Linked DNA regions of Homo sapiens: region 1 is linked to region 2. The links are contacts of gene promoters, found by promoter capture Hi-C in human tissues and cell types (Jung and others, 2019). All regions are on one chromosome and are shown on one strand. Each heading gives the region's core, a stretch centred on a gene start or on the middle of the fragment in contact. The rest is flanking DNA. Distances are from core to core; before and after follow the strand shown. Region 1 overlaps RFX2 (regulatory factor X2). Region 2 holds the start of ACSBG2 (acyl-CoA synthetase bubblegum family member 2).

Region 1 (2,728 bases), core at 65-2,564, 52 kb before region 2:
TGCAGTGAGCTGAGATCGTTCCATTGCATTCCAGCCTGGGCAACAGAGTAAGACCCTGTCTCAAAAAAAAAAAAAAAAAAAATGGTAGACAGGGGAAATGGACCAGATGTTGAATCTAGTTTGGTTATAGTCATTGCTGGGGATTAATATAGTAAGAGGAGGGTCCTTCTCTCCTGAATTGATGTCTATCAGGGGTTGGAAAGTTTTCTTTTTTTCTTTGAGACAGAGCCTTTCTCTGTCACACAGGCTGGAGTGCAGTGGCGCGATCACAGCTCACTTCATCCTCTAACTCCTGGGCTCAAGCCATCCTCCCACCACAGCCTCCCGTGTAGCTAGGACCACAGGCGTGCACCACCACTCTCAGCTAGTTTTTGTATTTTTTGTAGAGATGAGGTTTTGCCATGTTGCCCAGACTGGTCTTGAACTCCAGGGCTCATGGGATCCGCCCACTTTGGCCTCCCAAAGTGTTGGGATTACAGGTGTTAGCCACTGGAAAACTTTCTATAAGGGCCAGAAAATACACATTTTTGGCTTTGCAGGTCTCTGTTGAGACTACTCAACTCTGCCTCTGGACAGTAGGAGGAGTGAGTGTGGCCGCTGCACTCAGCGCTTTTCAGAGCCATGCTAGAGCCTGGGGCAAAGAGGAAAAAGAAGCAGCAGTGCTGATCCTGTCTTTATGTAAAATTTCAACATTTTGCTCATCATGGAATTTTTTTCCCATTATTTTTTTGAGACAGGGTCTCATTCTGTTGCCCAGGCTGCAGTGGCACAAACACGGCTCGCTGCAGCCTCAACCTCCCTGGGCTCAGGGAGTACGGGCACGTGCCACTACCCCCAGCTAATTTTTGTATTGTTTGTAGAGACGGGGTTTCACCCTGTTGTCCAGGCTGGTCTTGAACTCCTGGCCTCAAGTGATCCACCCGCCTTGGCTTCCTAGAGTGCTAGAATTACAGGCATGAGCCACTGTGCCCGGCCTTCATCATGAAATTTTTTGGCATTTATTTTGATTTTTTAAAATACTGCATTAAAACATTGTGTATCTTGATGACTGTGGATTTTTGTAGGCACTGCCTTAAATTTTGCATCCCAGGCGAGGGCCTCACTGCCTCATGCTAGTTCTGACCCTGGTGCTGGTGCTGTTCCAATAAATCTTTATTTATGGACACTGAAATTTAATTTCATATCATTTTCATGTGTCACAAAATATTTTGTCTTGTTTCCAATCATTTAAAAACGCAAAAAATATTCTCAACTCGTGGAAACTAAAAACAAAAATAAAAACCCACAGTAGTGTGCTAGATGTAGTCTGCTGACCCGTTTTTTTTTTTTTTAATTTTTATTCATTTATTTATTTATTCTGAGGCCGGGTCTTGCTCTGTCATCCAGGCTGGAGTGCAGTGGTGCAAACATGGCTCACTGCAGCCTCCACTTCCAGAGCTCAAGTGATCCTCCTGCTCAGCTTCCCCAGAAGCTGAGACCACAGGTATGTGCCACCATGCCCGGGTAATTTTTTAATTTTTTGTACAGATGGGGTCTCACCATCTTGCCCAGGCTGTGACCCCTATCTTGGATGGCCTTTGGGGGAACATGTCTTACTCATAATTATAGGCAGCGGAAAATGCCTGCTAGCGAGTAGGCACTCAAACGTGTCTGAATAATTTAGTCCCATTTTCTCCATTCTTAAATTACTGTTTAGGTTGCTTTACATTCTCTTCCCAGCCCCAGATCTCCAAATACAGGAGATGAGCACACGTGTCCAGGGCACCCCAGACCTCTTGGGCAGGGAGAATTCTCGGCAGAGAAGACCGGATATGGGAGTGTGGTGTGGGAATCGTCTGTGAGTGCTAAAGAACCGGTCCTCCACCTGCCCCAAGCTTTCCATTAGGCTCAAAAGCAGAGTTAGCCCAGTTAAGCGCATGGAAACTAAATGAGTTCGCTGTGCATTGTTCAGCTATACATGACCACAGGCAAGATAAATATTTAGGGTCTTTATTAAAGCTGTGATCCTCTGCTTTAGCAGGACAGCGTAGGGACTTACTAGAGGCAAACCATAAAAAGCATATGCCTCCTAGTAAAGTAATGCTGGGAAATATGACGAGTCAATTACTCTTTATCATTAATTGTGGTAAAATGTGCATAATGTACAATTTACCATTTTAACCATGTTTAATATACAGTTCAGTAGCATTAAGCACACTCACACTGTTGTGCAACCATCACCTCCATCCATCTCCAGAACATTCTCATCTTCCCAAATTGAAACTTTGTCCCCATGAAACACTCACTCCCTACCCCCTCCCCAGCCCCTGGCACCCACCATTCTACTTTCTGTCGCTATGGATCTGATGACTCTAGGGACCTCCTAGGGGTGGAATCACACTGGATTTGTCCTTTTTTTTCTTTCTTTCTTTCTTTTTTTTGAGACAGAATCTCGCTCTTGTTGCCCAGGCAGGAGTGCAGTGGTGCGATCTTGGCTCTCTGCAACCTCTGCCTCCTGGGTTCAAGTGATTCTCCTGCTGCAGCCTCCCAAGTAGCTGGGATTACAGGTGCCTGCCACCACGCCCGGCTAATTTTATATTTTTAGTAGAGGCTGGGTTTCACCATGTTGGCCAGGCTGGTCTCAAACTCCTGACCTCAGGTGATCCACCACCCACCTTGGCCTCCCAGAGTGCTGGGATTAGAGGTGTGAGCCACTGCGCCCGGCTGGATTTGTCCTTTTGTGTCTGAT
Region 2 (2,969 bases), core at 41-2,540:
AGCCAAACTCCGTCTCTCTCTCTCTCTCACACACACACACAAAAGGCCCTGGAGACAAAGGAACACTCCTTGTCCTTTTCTCCTGGCACAGCACAAGATTCTGTTGCTACATCTTTATTTACTGAGCATCTAGTATGTGCTGCACCTGGCACTGTTTTGTCTTTTTTGTTTTGAGACAAGGTCTTGCTCTGTAGGCCTGGCTGGAGTGCCATGGTACCATCACAGCTCACTGCAGCCTGGAACTCCTGGGCTCAAACAATCCCCCCACCTCAGCCTCCCTACTAGCTGTGGTTACACTTGCGCACCACCACGCCCGGCTAATTTTTTAAATTTTTCTGTAGAGACGGGGTCTTACTACATTGCCCAGGCTGGTTTTGAACTCCTGGCCTCAAGTGATGCTACGGACTTGGCCTCCCAAAGTGCTGGGATTCCAGGCACAAGCCACTGTGCCTGGTAGTGGACATTGTTAGCAGTGACTAAAGCAGAGAACGAGAAGGGGGAGGCCGCTGTAAACACATGAAGACAGGCAGCGTAAGAGAAAGTCACGAGGGCAGGAATAACATCCAGGCATACTTCAGATCCCAGCTCAAGAAACCACTCCCAGGCCAGGCGCGGTGGCTCACGCCTGTCATCTCAGCACTTTGGGAGGCCAAGGCGGGCGGATCACAAGGTCAGGAGTTTGAGACCAGCCTGGCCAACATGGCGAAACCCCGTCTGTACTAAAAATACAAAAGATTAGCCGGGCGTGGTGGCGGGCGCCTGTAATCCCAGCTACTCGGGAGGCTGAGGCAGGAGAATCGCTTGAACCTGGGAGGCAGACGTTGCAGTGAACTGAGATCGCACCATTGCACTCCAGCCTGGGTGACAGAGCAAGACTCCCGTCTCAAAAAACGAAAGAAAAGAAAGAAACCACTCCCAGACTCCCTGCCTGGGCGGGATCCTTTGATCAAGCCCTCAACATGCCTTGGGGCTCTCTTCACAATGGTAAGTTTGCATTTGTTTGTGTGATTCTAGGCCTCCTCTTATTTTCTTGAACAGGCCTCATCTGGCTTTGTTCATCTTTATGTCTCCAGCATCCAGCACAATCCCTGCCATTAGGGTCATGGCTTCATAAAAACGTCACGAATGCAACGCAGAAGTGCATGCATGCATGAATAAATGAATGATGCATGAAAAGAGCAATCTCCCTGTCCTGGAAGCAGCTTCCCCTAGGGGTGGGGGTGGGGTGCGGAGGCAGGGGCAGCCAGTGATGTCACAAGAGGTGGCTGGGATGGAACGTTCTGGAAGGTTGAATGGGGTAGAAGGCCTGTTGTGGAGGGAAACCACCCATCCTCCTGCCTCCCACCACCACCATCATCCTGGCTGGACGGAGAGGGTGACGGGGGCTGGGAAGGGGCAGCTCATGTTCAGGTTTCCAGGAGGGGCTACCTGTTGACTGTCTTTGCAGGAAGAAGAAAACACCTGAGTGACCAGATGTCCCAGCTCCAGGTGCCTTGCCAGATGGCCAGAACCACACCTCTTGAAGAGTGACAGGTGCCAGTGGTATGGGAGAAGGGCATGCGTTTTCTTTTCTTTTTTTTTTGAGACAGGGTCTCACTCTTTTGCCCAGGCTATAGTGCAGTGGCACGATCTCAGCTCACTGCAACCTCTGCCTCCCAGGCTCAAGTGATACTCCCACCTCAACCTCCCAAGTAGCTGAGATTACAGGCGCCTGCCACCATGTCCAGCTAATTTTTTTTTTTTTTTTGAGACAGAGTCTTGCTCTGTTGCCCAGGCGCAATCTCGGCTCACTGCAAGCTTCGCCTCCCAGGTTCACACCATTCTCCTGCCTCAGCCTCCTGAGTAGCTGGGACTACAGGTGCCTGCCACCATGCCCGGCTAATTTTTTGTATTTTTTAGTAGAGATGGGGTTTCACCACATTAGCCAGGATAGTCTCAATCTCCTGACCTCGTGATCCACCCGCCTTGGCCTCCCAAAGTGCTGGGATTACAGGCGTGAGCCGCCATACTCGGCCTAATTTTTATATTTTTAGTAGAGATGGGGTTTCGCCATACCAGCCAGGCTGGTCTTGAACTTCTGACCTCAGGTGATCCACCCGCCTCGACCTCTCAAAGTGCTGGGATTATAGGCACGCGCCACCATGCCCAGCTAATTTTTGTATTTTTAGTAGAGATGGGGTTTCACCATGCCAGCCAGGCTGGTCTCGAACTCCTGGCCTCAAGCGATCCACCCGACTCAGCCTCCCAAAGTGCTGGGATTACAGGTGTGAGTCACCACATCTGAACCCTACATGGCCTTTTAAAATTGTGAAACATATAATGCATATAAAATAACACAAAGCATATCTGTACGATTTAATGAATAACGATAAATATCTGTGTGCCCTTTTCACTTCGTGAAATCGAATATTACTAGTAACTTACAAGTCCTCTGTAGAGAACTCCTGAGCTCAAGTGATCCACCTGCCACGGCCTCCCAAAGTGCTGGGATCACAGGTGTGAGCCTCCGCACCCGGCCGATCGTGTGATTTTTAACGTGCAGTTCCCTGATGACCAAAGCTACTGAGCATCTTGTCCAGGATTTGTAGCCCTTTCCAGGCTCCTTTTTTGTGAACTGCCTGTTTACATTTTTCATCATAAAACACTGGGTTGTTTACATTTGTCTTTTAAATCCAGAGTTCTTTTCATACTCCGGATACTAATTTTATTTGCCCATTTTGCATTGCCATAAAGTAATACCTGAAGATGGGCAATTTATAAAGAAAAGAGGGGCCTGGTGTGGTGGCTCACACCTGCAAATCCCAGCACTTTGGGAGGCCGAGGTGGCGGGGTTGGGGGGGGGGGGGGGGCTTGCTTGAGGCCAGGAGTTCAAGACCGGCCTGGGCAATATAGCGAGGCCCCCAGCTCTACAAAAATAAAAATAAAAATAAATTAGCCAGGCGTAGTGGCATGCTTCTGTAGTCCCAGCT

What was found. The method cuts DNA at HindIII sites, captures the fragments that hold promoters and counts their contacts. A contact is called where the count stands out against the background at its distance.
Region 1: a contact is called between a fragment that was not itself captured here and the fragment with the promoter of ACSBG2 in region 2, in 1 of the 25 tissues and cell types used here (stomach).

What each region holds. Positions count from the first base shown.
Region 1 is chr19:6,082,232-6,084,959 of GRCh38, forward strand. All of the region lies in intron 1 of RFX2 (regulatory factor X2), which reads right to left. Among named protein-coding and RNA genes, the nearest start is that of RFX2-AS1, 21 kb to the left of the region's middle. The HindIII fragment of the contact is 5,805 bases long and covers 1-2,728 here.
Region 2 is chr19:6,134,377-6,137,345 of GRCh38, forward strand. ACSBG2 (acyl-CoA synthetase bubblegum family member 2) reads left to right here and starts at 1,291. Exons shown (of 15, transcript NM_030924.5): 1 at 1,291-1,533. The region is part of intron 3 of LOC105372255 (a long non-coding RNA gene); the gene reads right to left. RefSeq lists enhancers at 255-1,158, 1,159-2,061. The HindIII fragment of the contact is 13,898 bases long and covers 1-2,899 here.